Linked DNA regions of Homo sapiens: regions 2, 3, 4, 5 and 6 are each linked to region 1. The links are contacts of gene promoters, found by promoter capture Hi-C in blood cells and fetal thymus (Javierre and others, 2016). All regions are on one chromosome and are shown on one strand. Each heading gives the region's core, a stretch centred on a gene start or on the middle of the fragment in contact. The rest is flanking DNA. Distances are from core to core; before and after follow the strand shown.

Region 1 (3,407 bases), core at 236-2,735:
AAGAGTGTATCATTATCGCTGTACAATAATCTGTAGAAAACTCTATTCCTTGCAAACTTGAGGCAGCACTTTTAGCGTTGTATAAATGCATGCAGAAATAATACCATATTCAGAATTCTTTCAGAATTAGAGTACTCATGCTTTAGAAAATACTGGGTTTCTTATCTCTTAATGTGTGTAAAATAAACTTGGAATGTCACTTTGGGTTACCATAAGTTTGTATCTAAAGATTTTATTTGACATTTGAATAATTTGCTTAAAATTTAAATATTTAAGAATGTTATAGTAATAAAGGGATCAAAATAGTTAATCTGGAAGGGGAGTTGACAAATTATAAAACAGAAAACTATATTTGATTGTGCATATCCAAAAAGCCAGAGCTATCACTTCAGCAATTTAATGTATCTAATGCCTGTGATTTGCTTGAGGTCGGTAGAAGCTTATATAGTCACTTTCAGAGCACTCCCCTGAGAAAATGTCAAGACTTGAATTTGCTTCTCTAATGCAGAGCTTCTCAAGTAGTTTGTCTCAAGCTATTGATCGAAGCCTTCTGGGTGTCTAGCTGGGCAGCACTTAAGGTGGCTGGAGCTCCCAGGCTGGTCGCCTCCAGAATTCCAAACAACTAATTTTCTCTATCTGCCATGATGTAAAAAATGCTGTGAAACACCACAGTGGGACAGGCATGGACAGGCATGCAGGCAGTGGGGTGCATGTATGTGGTTTAATACTGAAAATAAGGATACAAAAATCCTGCCAGGTGATGCTCCTGTAATTCTCAAGGAGCGGCAGTGATTTGTTATTTCACATTTTTCCTCACTCTATCCTTGCCCCTGACACACACACTGCAAGTCACTGATTGGAGCAGGCCAGTTCCTTCAGGTGAAGGGGCCTAGAGAAATGTCGGTGAATACCCAGTGAATACCACGCTGTGAAACTCTGCATCTGAGGCACGCAGTGGGGCTTTGGTTCTCTCCTCTCACCAGGGGTTTGACCTTTCAACCACCTCAGAAAAAAGGAAAGGTGGAAGCAGGAAGGGGGACCAGCAGCTCCAGGCAAGCAATGCTAATTAGCTCCAGCGTAATGACCCAACATCAGTTCTTAGCTGAATTTTAACAGTCCATTTGAAAACATTTTCTAGATAAATGAAAATGGAAAGAGCTCTAGAAAATGTTTAAGTGTTACATACTTAAAATAGTATATTTACTTATTGAAGTTAAATGCCAAGATGTAGAACTAGTGTGTTATTTTCTTGGTACAGATTACAATGCTGTGTTTCAGTGAAGGAGCTAATTGAAATGATTAGTAGATAGATGTAATCAGAAAAATATTAAATGAAGATAGTAATTTCTAAAGCAGGAAATAAAGACAGTTACAAGTCTGTTCTTATTTTTCCAATCTGTTATATAACTCCTCCCACCCATTAACCTTAACTAAATGTATGATTCATTTGTTAAACAAATACTGAGTTCCAGCTACGTGTAAGGCATCATAGGGGCAGAAGATACAGCAGTGAACATAACAGGTAAAACCCTCCCCCTCTGCCAAGGGGCAGGACAGGGAGGAAAGGGAAGACAGAGACAGGTGGAATATGGAGTGTTCAGTGTTGGTAAGTGCTAAGGAGAAAAAATGAAACAGGAGGTAAGATGCAGAGGGTGGTGGTGAAGGCAATGGGAGGTTGCCTTGAAAGCGGAGCTCAGTGTAGTCTCCATTTGAGTTAAAGACTGGAAATGAGCAAGGAAACAGTCTAAGGAAAGAAAGACTAATAGAGCAGCCAGCAGAGAGCTCTCTGCAGAGAGAGAGGGCGGACCTGTGTGGTCAGGGAATTGCAGGAAGAAGGCCCGTGGGGTTAGAGTGATGTCAGTGGTGGGAGAGTAGTACAAGATGGCGTCAGAAAGCTCGTAGGGGTTAGGTATACAGCCTTGTAGGCCATTATGAGGAGTTTGGCTTTTACTCTAGGTGAGACGGGAACCCACTGGAGAGTTTTAAGCAAAGACATGACATGGTCTCACTTAGGATTTAACAATTCTGGCTCCTTTTCGAGCGTAGACTGGAGGGGGCCAATTAGGAGGCTGCTGCAATAATCTAGGTGAGAGACGACGGCAAGGGTGAGAGATGATAGACCAGGGTGGTAGCAGTGGAGTAATGAAAAGTATGATTCCAGAAATATCCAAGACAATTTCCTGGCAGATTTGATGTGAGGTGTGATTAAAGAAGAACCAAGAATGACTTTAGTGTTGTTGGCCTGAGCAACTGGAAGAACAGAGTTGCCATTTATTGAGATGAGAAGGCTGCCAGAAGAGTAGAGGTAAATGTGTGAGTATGTGTGTGTTGGGGGGATGGAGGGAGAGTTGCACTGAAAGCATGAGCAAAGATTTAGACAAATTAGGATTGAGATGTCCATTAGACAACTAAGAAGAGATGTCAAGCAGGTAGTTGGATCTGTGAGACTCAGGGAAAAAGTCTGACCTGGAGAATATAAATGTTACAATCATCTGTGTGTGGATAGTATTGAAAGCCACAGGGCCAAAGGAGATCATCAAGAAAGCAGATAGGAAAGAGAAGAGGTCCAATCACTGAGCCCTGGGGTAATACAATATTTAAAAGGTCAGAGAGATTATATGGCCTGTTAATTACATTATATACTTAGGAACTATCCTTCATAGTCTGTATTTGGGGTTTTTAAGAAACAAAAGGTAGAGGTGCTCCCAAGAATTAAACTGAGCCGGGCGCAGTGGCTCATGCCTGTAATCCCAGCACTTTGGGAGGCTGAGGCAGGAGGATCGCTTGAGTCCAGAAGTTCAAGACCAGCCTGGGCAATATAGGGAGACTCCGTCTCTACAAAAACTGCAAAAAAAAAAAAAAAAAGGCTGGGCGTGTGGCACGTGCCTGTGGGAGGTCGAGGTTGCACCACTGCACCACTCCAGCCTGGGCAAAAGCAAGACCGTGTCTCAAAAAAAAGAAAAAAAAAATTAAACCAAAGCCAAAAGAAGATCACTTACAAAATACCGACATCTAGGTGTGAAGCTGGCAATGTTCCCAAGGTTTTTGTAAATAAGTTGATTCCAAACTGTTCACTATTGAGACCCCTCTGTGTGACATGTACCGATTACAAAGATGAATTTTGCATAGCATATTCTAAAATGCCCATTAGGTGGCAGAAAAACATTCAGTAAACCAACTGTGAGCTAGCTAGTGCTCACTCTTGTGCTCATTCACGGTCTCTCTCTCCACTCCCCTCCAACCTCCCAAAGAGCCCTCTGAACTTAAAGATGTATATGGCTATTAATGCACAACACCATAATCATAAAGAACGAAGACTGGTATTTTCTTCAGAGAGCCAACAGATATCATCAGTCTGTAAGATAATAGAGGCAAGCCAGGTGTACAGGGGATGAGGGTGTGCGTAT
Region 2 (3,278 bases), core at 707-3,206, 230 kb after region 1:
GCTATTATTTTTACAATATTGGGTGCTGTACATTATGTCAAAATTAATTTTTAGATTTTTTTCCCCCTTAAAACAGAGCTTTGGCTGGGCATGGTGGCTCATGCCTGTAATCCTAGCACTTTGAGAGCCAGAGGCAGGTGGATCACCTAAGGTCAGGAGTTCGAGACCAGCCTGGCCAACATGGTGACACCCCGTCTCTACTAAAAATACAAAATTAGCCAGGCATGGTGGCGCATGCCTGTAATCCCAGCTACTTGGGAGTCTGAGGCAGGAGAATCGCTTGAGCTTGGGAGGCAGAGATTGCAGTGAGCTGAGATAGTACCATTGCACTCCAGCCTGGGCGACAAGAGCAAAACTCTGTCTCAAAAAAAAAGGAGTTTTACCAAAGATGGTAATTGAAGCATCAGAAAGTAATAGAGCTGACCTAGATTATTAAGTAAGTGGAATTGGGAAAAACTAACATCTGGATCAAGGATGACTCTTTAATTGTAAAAGCAGTCATAGAAATTACTAAGAAAATGCTGGGCACGGTGGCTCACGCCTGTAATCCCAGCACTTTGGGAGGCTGAGGTGGGTGGATCATCTGACGTCAGGAGTTCGAGACCAGCCTGGCCAACACAGTGAAACCCCATCTCTAGTAAAAATACAAAATTAGCCAGGCGCAGTAGTGCATACCTGTAATCCCAGCTACTCAGGAGGCTGAGACAGGAGAATCACTTGAGTCTAGGAGGTAGAGGTTGCAGTGATCCAAGATCATGCCATTGCACTCCAGCCTGGGCAAAAAGAGTGAAACTTGGTCTCAAAAAAAAAAAAAAAAATTACAAAGAAAAATACAAAGTGTTGAAAAAAAATTTAATGCCTATCCAAAAACCATCTTGAAAAATACCACAAACTAGGAAAACTATTTGCCACAATTGGGGATGTTTCCTAGCTTTAATTCAAGATTCTTACAAATAAATGAGAAACAAGTTGCAATCTAACGTAACGTAGTAGTATGGTTACAATTGTGTGATATATAAGTAATGGCAAATATAATGGAACATGTGGCTACTAAAAATCATGTTTTCAGAAGATTTTAATTATATGGAAAATGCTAATCCAAAGTGATAATACTTTATGCATCTAGTGTGATCATAATTTTGTTTATATTTAATTTCTATATTTAGGCAAAAAGGAAAAATATTCAGAGAAAATAGATCAAAAAGAGTTACAATGTTTTATCTGTGTAGTAAGAATATGGGTAATTGTGTAATTTTCTGCATTTTCTTAGGCTTCAGGAAAATGTGTTAGTTTTATAATCAGAAAACAAACCAACATTAATACAGAAAATATATTCCTCATTAAAGCTTTCCTCTTCCTTTAAAAATTAAACTTTATATTTTAGAATAGACAAAACATTAAGTGAAAAAGTCTACTAAAGGAAAATTTTTAGAATGAAAAAAGAGGGGCGTATATTGCCTTTCTGAGATAGTAAATGAGAAACTCAGGAAAAGTACTTTGGGAAATTTTTAAATACCCCTTTTAACTTGAGCACTCTTTCGTATTTGCTCTTCTGATAAAACTCACTCGGTTGGTAAACTAGACGATTCCTGAGCAATCTCAACATGACCATCTTTAGTAACCTGGCGTTATTTCCTACAGTGTGACATGCACCAGCACGGATGTGTTATTAGTGTCACCCGTTCATCAATCTCCACCTTCATCTAAGGCAGACAGATGGAGAATTCTGCTCTGTCTTCCTAGCAAGCATTTTTGAGCTCTTTTTTTTTATTAAGCCATTTATCTAGTCATTTAAAAAGTCTGTCTCTAGCCGTTCACATAAAGAGCCGGCATTATTTTTCAAAGCATTTTAAAATACTAGTTCTTGCCTACCTTATGGGGGGATCATTTTTATTGCCTATTCATGTGAAATATTTTAACATCAAATTTTGATTACAGGAACCTGGCTCACTAGCTTTAGCCATGCCAGAGTGTTGAAATACTTTAGGAGACTAAAATATGTGGTGATTTGAATTATCTAAAATTCCACAGGAAAATACAATAGAATTTCACAGCAGGAAAGGACCTTAGAAATAATTTAATCTAACTCTCCTTATTTTACAGAGGAGACTGAAGCCAAAGAGGCTAAAACCCAAGATTAACACCCAGTTTGAAACTGGTCCTCTGATTTCTCATTGCCGTCTTTTAAAAAATACATTATACTTAGAATTTGTTTCTAAAAGTTGTCACATAGTATTTGGGTGTCACTGGCATGTATAATAGATTCTGGAGTTGCAAACAGAATCTACACCGTGACAAATTGAATACAATGAATTTAAAGTTTTCCCTGGTTGCCCTAGTGCCAAAGTGTAAAAGGGACATTATTACAGTTTGAGGTCATGCAGCCCCAGCATCTTGTGGCTTTCCCTACTTTTCGTCAGAAAAGTCTCATTATTTCCTCAGTTTAATTATTTTAAGTTTAGTTGATTTTTTTTCTTTTCTAATCTCAGATTTTGAGAAGAAAACCTTCTAAATCAGTATTATTTTTATTAACGCTGATTGTTAGAGTTTTGCTTTGATCCTTATTAAAGCTTTTGACAATGATTTGAGTTACAAAAATTTAAATTTTAAGTTAGAGATTAAGCATGAGAAAGTTTAGATCAGGAAGAAAAATCAATTTCACTGTATATTTTTGTCCTTAAAAGCATAGCTAAAGAATTTCTATAGAAGTTTGAGGGAAATGTCTCTCCTCCTGGCCTGTAAATGAAGATATCACAACAGCTGCAAGGTATTGGTTACACCGTTGGAGTTCATTTTGATACAGTGGATTTTTTATTATTTTTTAACCCCACACCCCCCAAGTTTTTTTTTTTCATAGCAGGTGTGACTTTTAACCTTCCAAACTCAACCTTGTATGATACCGAATAATTCTGTAGGGACAAAATGATCCAAGATATGTGGGAAATGAACTTAAGAAAGATTAATAATGTTTCTGTAATTTTAAGCTTAAGTAACAGTTCTTACATTGAACACAATGTAGACAAACTACAAATTGAAACTAAGCAAATGTTGGAGGAAAAGAGAATCCGCACATTGATGAATTATGATTGTATTTATACTTTTGATCTGTGGTCTCATTGATGAAGGCCTTGTCCTGTTAACAAATGAGCAAATTTGAGATGGGATCTTAGATATAAAATACATAATTTGAACTTACTTTCAGAAATGCAAACATATCTTCACTGAGGTTATAATTAACACAAAAACTCTTTATGCAATTTGTATAGTTTATAGTGAAA
Region 3 (3,007 bases), core at 20-2,519, 150 kb after region 1:
GTTTTATTGGCATATGTTTCTAAATATTAAATATCAACTGGAAAGTAGAAGTAAATTAATGTAACTAAAAAAGATTTACTTTAGCATATGAAAGGTTATCATCTCCAAACTGTTAATATTTACAAGTGATTTTTTAAAGTGATAAGCTTCCTTATAGTGAAATACTTATTAAGTAGGCTCATTTATTCAACATGTATAATTATTTATTGCTTTCTATATGACCAGCTTTCTATATGTTAAGAACTGGATATATAATCATTAGTGAGCAAAACATTTATGGGTTCTTCTATTGGAGTTTATGCATTAGTTCATTTGGTAGATAATTGTTGAACACCAACTATGTGCCAGACACTGTTCTATAATTTAGGGTTGTGCTTTGTGGAGGGAGAAATAAGTAATAAATGTGGTAAGTGCTTAAATAAATGATTAAGATCATTTCAGATAGGGATCAGTACTTCAAAGTGAGTAATACAGGGAGAACTAATGAAGTACCTGAGCTGATCTACTTTACAGACTAGTAGAGGAGATAATTTTAGTATAATTAATCACATAGATAAATATGATAAATGCTGTAAAGGAAAAGCAATGAGTGTTTATGAGAGCTGATAAATGAGGGAGATAAGGGATAGTTCATTTTGGGGGAATCGGGGAAGACTTCTGGAAGAAGTAACATTTGAGCTTAAATCTGAGCTACAACTAGGTGTTAGTTTTCTAGGGCTGCCATAACAAGTATGACAAACTGGGTGGTTTAAACAGCAGAAATGTATTGTCTCTCAGTTCTGGAGGCTAGAAGTCCAAGACCAATATGTAGGCTGGGTTGGTTCCTTCTGAGGGCTATGAGGGAGAATCTGTTCCATGCCTCTCTCTTATCTTCTGGTGGTTTGTTGGAAATCTTTGGTGTTACTTGGTTTGTAGACACAATAGCCTGATCTGCCTTCACATTCACATTGTGTTCTCCCCATGTGCTTGTCTGTGTCCAGATTTCCTCTTTTTATAAGGACATCAGTCATACTGGAGTAGGGACCCACCCTACTCCAGTATGAACTCATTTTAACGAATTACATCTACAACAGCTTTTATTTCCAAATAAGGTCACATTCTGAGGTACTGAGGGTTAAGACTTCAATATATGAATTTGAGGGGGACATAATCCAACCCGTAATACCAGGAGTTAGCTAGATGAAGAGAGGAGGGGGGATGACTTTTCAGGAAGAGAGAACAGCATGTGTGAAGGTATTGTGTTGGAGAAGCATGGCTCATTTAAGAAATGAAGTGTAGCTGAAGCATAGAAACTGAGAGGAAGAGTGAAGTGACAATTCCGGAGACATTTTGAAGGTAGAATAGATAGAGGGGACCTAATGACCAGCTGAACATGCTGTGAAGGAAGGAATAATCAAAGATAATTTCCTACCTATAGCTGTGATGAAAGTATTTTCACCATTTTCAGGTAGAGATATCCAGTAGAAAGATAGAAATTTCTTTCTATAGATCAAGGGAAAGATTGAAGCTGGAAATAAGGATTTGGAAGTAAACTATATTATAGGTCAAAAGTAGGCTAAAATTACTCAGGAAGAATGCTTTTAGATGAGAGGGCTGAGACCTAGAACCTTAAAAAACATCCATATTTAAAGAGGGGGCCAGAATAAAAAGCCAACAAAAAAAACAAAAAAGCAGGAAAAACAATATGCAGTAAGAAAAAGTAGATGGATTACTGCTTGGGAAACCAAGCTAGAAGAGAGTTTTGAGAAGGAGGGATTGGTTGATGGCATCAAATGCTACATGAAGGTAAAGTAGGATGAGACCTGGAGAGAGATCTGATCTCATTTGCCAGTTTGAGGTGATTAGTGAGTACAACAGGTTATAGAATAGTGAAAGTGGAAGCCAGGATTTGGGTGTGTGTGTGTTGAGGAGTAAAAGGCCAATGGAGAAGAAGAAGGAGTAAATATAAACAACTATCTTAAGAATTGGCAATGAAGGGAAGGTGATACAGGGAAGCACATACAAGTTTTAGAAGATGGTAGAGAGCTTAGGAAGATCTTGTATGACTGAAAACCAAGAGCAAGAAAATTAATGGGGGTGGGGAGAGGAGAGGAGAGGAGGGAGTGATACCTTACATAAAGATACGTAAGAGAAGTGTTCCCATTTAGGATTTGCTTCCTGGCATTTCTCAGGAATTTTATGTTTTTCTAGATTCCCAAATGCTGAAAAATTTGGTGGGGAAATCAGGAAAACAGGCAGGGTATTGTAATTTTCCTTCACGTTTAGCAGTCAAGGCAGAGGTTACTGATTAAATTCATGGACATCAAGTCTGCAGCAACAGCAGGAAACATGACACAGAGAGTCAAAGGTTAAGATGGCTATTTCTGGGAAGCTGGAGAGGAACACAGGACAGAAAGCTTCACGTCTTATTGTGGCTTTGCCGTGTACTAGTGTGTATTCCTAGCCCTGACTACTGCTAATGGTGAATCATTCTTGCAAATAACGTAAGTATGAATAAGCTTATTCACATAGTATATTTTGTATATGATTCCAGTGAGTGGTGTCCCGAGAAATAATAAGTTTTGACAGCAAAATCTTAAATTGGTCATTTGGACATGTGATTCTTTGTAATGCTATTAATGTTGCTAGGAGATCTGAATGTTACGTTACTTGAATACTATACCTAATAATGTTTGCTGAGGGCTTCCAGTGTTTGGTATCTGCTACAGGCTACGATTATTTGTAAATACTTTTGACAGAATAAATGCAAGAGATGATCACAGTGTGGCTATGGAACACTTTGATGTGAAATCAGAAACATCTGTAATCTGGATTAGCAAAGCAATATTCACTTTAATGGCAAAACCGAAATCAGTGCAAGCATACAAAATATTTTTATTGTTAAAGAAGAAAATGAGCTTAAATGAAGCAAAATGTGTTTGAATGTCCAGCTTGGTGATCACACCAACATCTATGCAACATGAAAGAAAGTTTTCTATGTCTGGAATGTTTGTCATGAAATAAAAGT
Region 4 (2,993 bases), core at 1-2,500, 180 kb before region 1:
ATATATGTAATTATATAATAATCATGCAATAATTTTACAAAAGATGTCTTGGTGTCAATTCAGTAAATACATACTATTTTGTGTGAAGTATTATGCTGGAATAGAAATGTTTAACAGAAAACTGACATATAAAACAAACTTTTTCAAGGAGTTTATGCTCTGAGAAAAAAGGATGAAAGTATCCAAATAATACTGGCAGATATAAGATTAAGGTAACAGTAAGGGAGGAACAAACTGCCATTAGGGATCCCAAGGACGGAGAGATGACATTCGGCTGCAGGGGATTAAGAATATCATAATGAAAGTTGACTGGAGCTTTTAGATAAGTTATAGATGGAAAAGAACAGAAAAGACATTTTCACTGAACATTAGGTGAGCTTATAAAATAACTCTGAAACTATAAGCTAGGACCAGACAGAGTATCTGAAATCACTTCAGTTTCCACTTTTGAAGCAAACATAATCCTTTAAAAAATTAGCTTGGGCTGCTGTTAACACAGCCACAAACTTGGTGGCTTAAACAACAGAAATGTATTGTCTCACAGCTCGGGAGCCCAGAAGTCTGAGATTAAGATGTTGGCAGGGTTGGTTCCTTCTGAAGGCCGCAAGGGACACTGCTCCATGCCTGATCCCTAGCTTCGTGGGGTCTGCCAGCAATCTTGCATTCCGATTGTGGATGCATCACCCCAAGCTCTGTCTTCATGTTCACATGGTGCTCCTTCTCCCTGTGTGCGTTTGTGTCCAAATTTCCCCTTTTATAAGGACACCAGTCATACTGGATTAGTGCCCACCATAATGACTTCATTTTAACATGATTGTCTCTGTAAAAACTATCCCCAAATAAGGTCACATTCTGAGGTACTGGGGGGTAGGACTTCAACCATTCTTTTTTAGGGGACACAATTCAGCCCACAGCAGTAACACACACATTCACACACACGCACACAGTTTCATATAGCATGTGCCTTTTAACATCCCCCCCGCCGCCCCGCACAAGACAGGGTCTCAGTGTCACCCAGGCTGGAGTGCCAGTAGCTGGAACTGCAGGTGTGTGCTACCACGCTCAGTTAATTTTTACTTTTTTTTTTCTTTGTAGAGACGGTGGTTTCACCATGTTGCCCAGGCTGGTCTTGAACTCCTGGGCTCAAGTGATCTATCCCCCTCGGCCTCCTAAAGTGCCGGGATTATAGGCATGAGCCACCATGTCCAGTGCAAGTGCCTTTTAAAAAGTGATGTTGAGAGTCAGGTGTTTATCCTAAATCAGGTCATGGAACACAACAGAAAAAATATAAAAAGAAATGTTCTAGCTCAGTAGCTTCTCATATAGTTTACTGATGTAACTATCTATCTGCCTTCAGACTCCCTCTGTCACAGTCTAAAGATGAACAGGTTGTACCTCAGATTAGAGAAAGTATAACAACTCACTTGTACGAAGCATTACAGTTTACAAAGTATTTCCCCACACTGCATTTCATTTGATCTTCAGTTCTCTCAAGACAATTAAGTCAGCAAGGTAGATATATTACCAGTGAGCATATGAATGAATGAAGTCCAAGAGGGGTTCAGTGAAATATTTTAGGGCCCCACTTTAGATGAATAGAGATGGCAACACAATTCAGGTGTTCTGAATTACAGCCCAGATCTTTTTCATTCCATCAGGATGTACCCAAAAAGAACGAAAGTAGTTATCACTTTTATTTGTTCTTCATTTGGAAAAATTTGTCTGATGCAGCCTACTGAAGAGTGTATTGACTGAAGATTCAGTTCCATTGATAAGATTATCTGGGAGTTCTTGGTATAGGCAGGAGGGGAGTTGTAATTAAACAACTGGCAGTGGTATCACTATGGGACTGACGGGCGGAAACAAAGAGCCGCCTCTACTCACTGAGCTAAAGGCTACCTTCATAACTATGAAAACAACATAGAAGTCAGCTTCGTATTTTTTATGGGACTGAGTCGACTCTTACCTGGTGGCAGATTGGTTTAGAAGCATGAATCTTGGATTGACTTATTCAGATGTTAGTCATATTATTTGTAGACCATCCATCAAAGGTCTTGCTTGTTTCCTTTTGGAATATTTAAAATACAAAGATTCTAATTCAATCCAGCAGAAAAAGCCCTTGTGCTGTAAATATAGGTAAATAACTGGGTCCAAAAGGGCACACCTATCTGTTTTTTTAATTTTTGTTGCTTTTCCTTTTTCAAAAATGTTAACATAAAACAATGTTTCTATTTATTGAGAAAAAACATTTACCAGGACCCATGCTCAGCACTTTACATCAACCTTTCCAGACCATCCCATTTTACAGAATAAAGGTGAGGCCCAGGCTAGGTGGGGGGCTTCAGTCATGCTGGAATTTGAACCCAGACCTTTCTGACTCCATAGAACATTCTTTTATTTCTTTTTATGAGGGGAGGTGGGAAGGGAATGGGGTGTTGACAGCTTTACAGAGATGTAATTCACATTCCATATAATTAATCAGCTAGGGACTAATAATCCAAAATATAGAAAGAACTCATACAACTCAATAACAAAAATATAATTCCACTTTAAAATGGGCAAAGGACCTACATAGACACTTCTCAAAAGAAATTCAAATTGCTAACAGGTATATGAATAAGTGCTCAACATCTCCAGTCACGACGGAAATGCTAATCAAACCAGGAGATACAGCCTCACACCTGGTAGAATGAATCGTATCAAAGGTCAAAGATAAGTGCTAGGGAGGATGAAGAGAAGAGGAAGCGCTTGTATGCTGCTGTTGGGGATGTAAATTATGGAAAACAATATGGAGGTTCCCCCAAAAAATTGAAAATAGAAATATCTGGGTATATACCCAAAAGAATTGAAATCAAGGTTGCAAAGAGATATCTGCACTCCTATGTTCATTGCAGCATTACTCAACGTCCTTTGATGAATAAAGATAGGGTTTATAAAATTACAATTACATACTGCTCAGCCTTATAAAAGGAAGAAATCCTGCCATTCAGAAC
Region 5 (3,174 bases), core at 135-2,634, 250 kb after region 1:
TTAAAAGCCCTGACACTAGAACCAGACTATCTAGGTTCCTAGTTTTGTGACATTGAATAAGTTCTATAACTTGTCAATGCTGCAGTTTCATCTCCAAGGGTTGTTGTGAGAATTGAACAATATAATAATTTATGTAAAGCACAAGAGCAACTGGTATTCTGAATAAGGACGAGCTTGTATTTATTTATTTATTTTTATAAGATTTCTCTTTCTCTCTCTCTTTCTTTTTTCTTCCTTTCTCTCTCTTCTCTTTCTTTCTTTTTTCTTCCTTCCTTCCTTTATAGCTTTATTTCTTTCTCTTTTTTTTTTTTTTTGACAGAGTGTTGCTCACCCAGGCTGGAGTGCAGTGATATGATCTCTGCTCACTGCAACCTCCGCCTCCTGGGTTCAAGTAATTCTCCTGCCTCAGCCTCCCAAGTAGCTGGGACTACAGGCGTGTGCCACCATGCCCAGTTAATTTTTGCATTTTTGTAGAGACAGAGTTTCACCATGTTGGCCAGGCTGGTCTCAAACTCCTGACCTCAGGTGATCTGACTGCCTCAGCGTCCCAAAGTGTTGGGATTACAGGCGTGAGCCACTGTGTCTGGCCTTTTAAGATTACTTTAAAAGAGCAGCAGTGAAAAGTGCCTGTGCACATGCTCCCTTAAAGCATAATTGCTCTATATTTTAATATCCTTACTAGAATTATAATTTGAAGCAAATATCTCCACAAAGCCAGATCAATAAAGTTAAGACATCAGATTATAAAAATTGGCAGTCTATTATTAGAGACATATAGTAGCTTTTTTTCAGACTGACATTTAGAGCCACCAGAATTATTTGTAACTACTAGCATGATTTTGAAGAAATAACTCAAAAATATATGAGTAAGAATCCTATTTCAAATGAGCCAGAAATAGCCATTGCAGCAGCCAAATGAGCTAACATTACTGAGAATTTGAGAGTAGTGGTCCACAAGTTAAATATTTTGTCTTGCTTTTCTTCTAATAAAGATTCAAGAAGCCAGAAGTTTGCAGGATGCATTTTGAATTTTAGAAAACGTTCAGTTTAGTCAGCTTCTGTTGGGTACTCAGCTCATATCAAGACTTGGAAGTGCCAAAATAATAACGTGTGATCCAGGACCTCATGGAAGGGATACAGAAACAGATCTTTCAATTTGAGGTAACAAATGAGGGTGTGGGAAGCGCATCTGGAAGAAAGGGCCCAGTGTTAGGATTTGGTAATAGAGACAGTTCTGCACATGTGGGAAGAGACTAAAACCAGATTGTAGTAGCTGGAGAGTACAAGCATCAGATGTTTGTTCATTTAGTCAATAGATAGTTATTGATCAACTTCCACTGACAAGAATTTCTGCTCTCATGGAACTCACATATCTAGTGGATATGCTCACTGTAGTTTTAGCTAGAAGGAAAGTTACAGGTTTATGGGAAGTGTTTAGTTTAGTTTTTTTTTTTTTTGAGACAGAATCTAGCTCTGTCGCCCAGGCTGGAGTGCAGTGGCATGATCTCAGCTCACTGCAACCTCCACCTCCCGGGTCCAAGTGATTCTCCTGCCTCAGCCTCCCAAGTAGCTAGGACTACAGGCGTGTGCCACCATGCCCAACTAATTTTTTGTATTTTTAGTAAAGACAGGGTTTCACCGTGTTAGTCAGGATGGTCTCGAACTCCTGACCTTGTGATCCACCCGCCTCAGCCTCCCAAAGTGCTGAGATTACAGGTGTGAGCCACCATGCTCAGCCCTTAGTTTGGTTATTTTTAAGATCTGAACTGTATGAACCTGTTTATAGACTCTCACTGTTTAAGAACTCTGAGAGTAAAGGTGTGGAGAAAGGGAATAACTAGAGAAACAAAAGTTCTGAAAGACACTGATTGGAGTATGGATCCTCTGTTAAAATTTATTTTCTTTCCACTGATGAAGTGTGTATTTTATATCTCTTTACAGGCATAGATGTAGATATAAAATGTTACTTGTCATATATGAACATTATTCTGACTCTCAATAGCCTGTGGCATAAAGTGCTACTTGATCACAAAAATGAGGGGACAATGATCTTGTAACTTTCTACTACAATTACATACAAATATTTATAATCCCATTAGATATTGTATTGATAAACACCTGTATGTAGTCTACAATATGAGGATTTAATAAATTGCTGTCTTAGGTACCAAAAATATTTCTGCGAAGGGCCTTCTTTGTGCCTTCTTTGTGTTTCTGTAGTTATGCAGCTCTGATAGCCGACACTTCTTTGTGTTTTGTAGTTATGCAGCCCTGATAGCCGACTGGCCGGTGGTGGTCTTGGGCATGTGCACCATGTTCATCGTAGTCTGTGCCTTGGTTGGAGTATTAGTGCCAGAGCTCCCTGACTTCTCTGATCCATTGCTGGTAACTAACTTTTATGTTTTCTTTAGCCTAAAATCATCTCCAAATATTGTGTATTTTAATACATGTTGCATTATGTTATTTAGTAACCCATTTCTTTAAAAACCTTCTCAAGCAACAATTCTCTTTCTGAAAAGTAAAGACATGACTTTATCTGTATTATCAGGTTCTTAAAAGGTCAAGGAACTTGTTTACCCTCAAAAATCTGGAAGGTTTGCTTCTTGGTCCCCATGTTTAAGCTAAAAAGCAATAAATTGGAGAATCTGCCTTCTACAAAATTATTCTCATAAAGTCTTTAACACTGTCTCTGTTTTCTCCCAAAGAAGTTAAAGGAATTTCAGTATTACTAACAGATCACAGAGTCTGTTTTTAAGTAAATGTTTCTCTGGAGTGGAATAATGAGGAAAATATGATCAAGGATAATGAAACACTCTTTGTAAAAATACAGTGCGTAACATGATTTAATTTGATCATAATTTTTATAAGATAAAAGTAAGTATTTACTAAATGCTTAGGCATGAGTTGGAAAGATAAACTTTCTTTAGACATGTAACATACCAAAGAATCAAACTGTTTTGTCACAGCAAATAGGTGATGATTATCATGTCAAGGCATCTTGTTTTAATGCAGTCACCTCTGGAGTAGCTGTGAGGAACAGCTATATTTTCTGTTGAAAGCTATATATCACTTTGACATTGCTTTCCCAAGCTTTTATTGTAACTGTACTTAGCCTGAAATGAAATATACTAATGAGCACCTGTAATTTTGCCTTAGGGTTTTGAACCAAGAGGA
Region 6 (3,249 bases), core at 678-3,177, 210 kb after region 1:
TCTACTAGATTTGGTGGATGATTGGATATCGGAGGGGCAAAGGGAGTAAGAATCACAACTGATTTTCAGTTTCCTGGCTTGAGCAACTGGTTGGGTAGATGGTAATGCCATTCACTAAAATGGGGAAGACAGAAGAAGGGAACTAAGTAAACAGAGCTGAGACATTGAGCTTCCAGAGAGGACTACAGAGTAACAGTAACAGTGAAAGTGTGATGTCCCTTGAGCTTATTTGAAAGAATGAGGTTGCTGAGTAATACATGACAATGCACTGAGGGCAATACTGGTGGGGGTTATCTTAGAATGAACACTGAAGCACTTTGACTCAGGCCAGCAGGTATTATATTTGCAGAATTGTGCTATGGGCAAGGCACTGAGTGAGATGCTATCTCGTCCTTTACCCAACCAATAAAATATCCACAGAAGCAAATGTGCTCTTCGATAGAGCTGCTATCTATGTATGGGAGAACAGGGCAGTTTGGGAAAGTCTGCACAGGATGTCCTTGGTAAGGAATTCTGAAAATGAGGATGTTGTACCATGCTTTACTGCCTTTGATTATTCTACGCAACTCTTTCAGGAACTTACTGTAACAAAGGTTCTAGAGGTTGATCTCGACCAGGAACTTCAAGTCTTTTTAGTTTTCTTTATTGTGGTTTATTGCTATGTAATTTTTAAGTTCTTTTTAAATTGATAAGGTCAAGTAAGTACTTAATGAAATGTTATTCAATTAATGTTTAAGGTGTATTTATGACTTCACATTACTTTAAAGGATGTGTTAAACATTGACCGCCTTAGAGTAAAATTGTATGGTGATGGAAGATCCTAAGTGCTATCAATTTTTATTGTTATTTGCACCTATACCACAAATGGGCCCACCTGTTTGTATTTGAAAGTGTTTTCTAAAGTTTTTATTTGTTTATAAAGCACTTAAGCCATAGAGAATGTTTTAAAGAATCAATCAGATAGAAAATATAATTTTAACGTAGGCCATTTGCTACTTACCACCTTTTGTATAGTAGACTCTCTTTCATCCCCTCTTGATTCTTTAAGCTTTAATAAATCTTTCTAAAAGATTCATTATATCAACCATCTGTGTGTTTTTTTTAAAAAAAAATTCCTTTTTAGTGTTCCGATTAATAAAATTAAGGCCAGGCGTGGTGGCTTGAGCTTGTAATCCCAGAACTTTGGGAGGCTGTGGCAGGCCAATCACTTGAGGTCAGGAGTTCGAGACCAGCCTGGCCAGCAATGGCGAAACCCTGTCTCTGCTAAACTACAAAAATTAGCCTGGTGTGGTGGTGCGCACCTGTAGTCCCAGCTACTTGGGAGGCTGAGGCAGGAGAATTACTTGAATCCGAGAGGTGGAGGTTGCAGTAAGCCAGGATCGTACCACTGCACTCCAGCCTGAGCGACAGAGGGAGACTCTCAAAAAAAAAAATACATAAAATTAAAATAAAGATTATTGCAAGGATCACATTTAATATGTCTATTTTAATTATTGCCAAATATTAAGTAGCTTAAATCGATTTTATTTTAAAGCTTTAGATTTCATTTTAAAGCTTCAGGCTTTTATATTTGTAGATTCCTGTCCTCATATACATTATTCAGCCCTTAATTAACATGTCTAATTGAGAACAATAAGGAATTTTATTTTATCTTATTTTATTTATTTGTTTCTTTTTGAGACAGAGTCTTGCTCCATCGCCCAGGCTGGAGTGCAGTGGCACGATCTCAGCTCACTGCAACCTCCACCTCCTGGGTTCAACGGATTCTTCTGCCTCAGCCTCCTGAGCAGTTGGGATTACAGGCGCACACCACCACGCCCAGCTAATTTTTGTACTTTTAGTAGAGATGGGGTTTCACCATGTTGACCAGGCTGGTCTTGAACTCCTGGCCTCAAGTGATCCGCCTGCCTCAGCCTCCCAAAGTGCTGGGATTACAGGCATGAGCCACAGCGCCCAGCCACAATAAGGAATTTTAAAAGGCTGAAAATAGTCTCTCCTCACCATGAGGCAAGACTTATACCAACAAGTCCTAAACCTAGCTGATCATCTTTGGAGTCACCTGGGGAATTAAAAATAAAATAAGTAGAATAAGAAGATATTTCTTTTGCAGTAGAAACAATAAATAACTCTAAGAGTTGAGAGGTGGGAAGGATCCCCTGGAAGGATCCCTGTAGGTTATTGAGGTTAGGGACAGTCTGACTGAGAAGAACAGAACATGAATGGCCCTTGAAAGATGACTAGAAATGAATGAAGGGACTCGAGGAGGCAAAACATGGAAAGTGGAGGAAAGTTGTGAAGGGAAAGCTTTCAAAAACCAAAGCTTTAAAATATTTCTTAAAACATGTAAGAAAGGGCCAGGCGCAGTGGCTCACGCTGTAATCCCAGTACTTTGGGAAGCCGAGGCAGGCGGATCATGAGGTCAGGAGATCGAGACCGTCCTGGCTAACACAGTGAAACCCCTTCTCTACTAAAAATACAAAAAATTAGCTGGGCGTGGTGGTGGGCACCTGTAGTCCCAGCTACTCGGGAGGCTGAGGCAGGAGAATGGCCTGAACCCGGGAGGCAGAGCTTGCAGTGATCTGAGATCGCACCACTGCACTCCGGCCTCGAGGACAGAGCGAGACTCCGTCTCAAAAAAAAAAAACCCATGTGAGAAAGGTAAAGAGAACAAGATTGTGGGAGCGGAGGGTCATTGTGGGTGTCCCCAATCTACGTCCTGAACAGTCCATTTGATGATCTGTTCTTTATCCTCCAGAGAGCTGGAAAATACCTCTCAAAAGCCAGTCACATTCCACGTGTGCTGGTTGAAGCAAGTTTTGAGTTATTCATTTGGGATCTTCTTATTGCCGTATTAAAGTGAAAGAGTAGTGGTATTATTGCAAAATTAATAAGGAGTTCTGCATCCAAAAATAGCACACTAGAGTTCTAATCTAAACTATACTTACCTTTTAATTCGGTGTTGCAAAGAAATATTCTTGATTGTAACAGAGGACTCCATAAATGATACTTGGCAATGCCACAGACTCATTATCATGATAGGGAACCTGTGATATTTTTGGGTACCTGCCAAATGCATTTTTATTTACCTAAGGTGATTTCATAGACAGATGGCCATTTTGAATGTTTCATGTGACTCACTAGAGGAATTAGAGCTATACAGAGTTAAGAATGCTTGGCGTAGAGGGAACCGTAGAACCCTGGGACTAGCTTAGCCTCTTAAAGTTAACTAAATATTGTCCCTGCCACCCC

Evidence for each region. Contacts are between HindIII fragments. The CHiCAGO score rates a contact against its expected background, and 5 or more counts as called.
Region 2: a fragment that was not itself captured here is called in contact with the fragment with the promoter of FAM177B in region 1 in 3 of 17 cell types (naive B cells, total B cells and megakaryocytes); the score reaches 7.1 in naive B cells.
Region 3: a contact is called between a fragment that was not itself captured here and the fragment with the promoter of FAM177B in region 1, in 1 of 17 cell types (naive B cells). The highest score is 5.3, in naive B cells.
Region 4: a fragment that was not itself captured here is called in contact with the fragment with the promoter of FAM177B in region 1 in 1 of 17 cell types (neutrophils); the score reaches 5.2 in neutrophils.
Region 5: a contact is called between a fragment that was not itself captured here and the fragment with the promoter of FAM177B in region 1, in 3 of 17 cell types (naive B cells, total B cells and megakaryocytes). The highest score is 10.2, in naive B cells.
Region 6: a fragment that was not itself captured here is called in contact with the fragment with the promoter of FAM177B in region 1 in 1 of 17 cell types (naive B cells); the score reaches 5.4 in naive B cells.

Annotation. Positions count from the first base shown.
Region 1 is chr1:222,735,717-222,739,123 of GRCh38, forward strand. It overlaps FAM177B (family with sequence similarity 177 member B), which reads left to right and starts at 1,486. Exons shown (of 6, transcript NM_001394345.1): 1 at 1,486-1,606; 2 at 2,188-2,305. RefSeq lists an enhancer at 728-1,269 and a silencer at 3,199-3,248. The HindIII fragment of the contact is 3,071 bases long and covers 438-3,407 here.
Region 2 is chr1:222,968,570-222,971,847 of GRCh38, forward strand. All of the region lies in intron 3 of DISP1 (dispatched RND transporter family member 1), which reads left to right. Among named protein-coding and RNA genes, the nearest start is that of DISP1, 160 kb to the left of the region's middle. The HindIII fragment of the contact is 1,224 bases long and covers 1,345-2,568 here.
Region 3 is chr1:222,889,920-222,892,926 of GRCh38, forward strand. The region is part of intron 1 of DISP1 (dispatched RND transporter family member 1); the gene reads left to right. Among named protein-coding and RNA genes, the nearest start is that of DISP1, 76 kb to the left of the region's middle. The HindIII fragment of the contact is 2,250 bases long and covers 145-2,394 here.
Region 4 is chr1:222,552,425-222,555,417 of GRCh38, forward strand. It overlaps a transcript of TAF1A not described here. Among named protein-coding and RNA genes, the nearest start is that of HHIPL2, 5.8 kb to the left of the region's middle. The HindIII fragment of the contact is 6,553 bases long and covers 1-2,993 here.
Region 5 is chr1:222,988,364-222,991,537 of GRCh38, forward strand. DISP1 (dispatched RND transporter family member 1) reads left to right here. Exons shown (of 9, transcript NM_001377229.1): 5 at 2,262-2,385; 6 at 3,157-3,174. Among named protein-coding and RNA genes, the nearest start is that of TLR5, 150 kb to the right of the region's middle. The HindIII fragment of the contact is 3,407 bases long and covers 1-3,088 here.
Region 6 is chr1:222,947,968-222,951,216 of GRCh38, forward strand. The region is part of intron 3 of DISP1 (dispatched RND transporter family member 1); the gene reads left to right. Among named protein-coding and RNA genes, the nearest start is that of DISP1, 130 kb to the left of the region's middle. The HindIII fragment of the contact is 750 bases long and covers 1,553-2,302 here.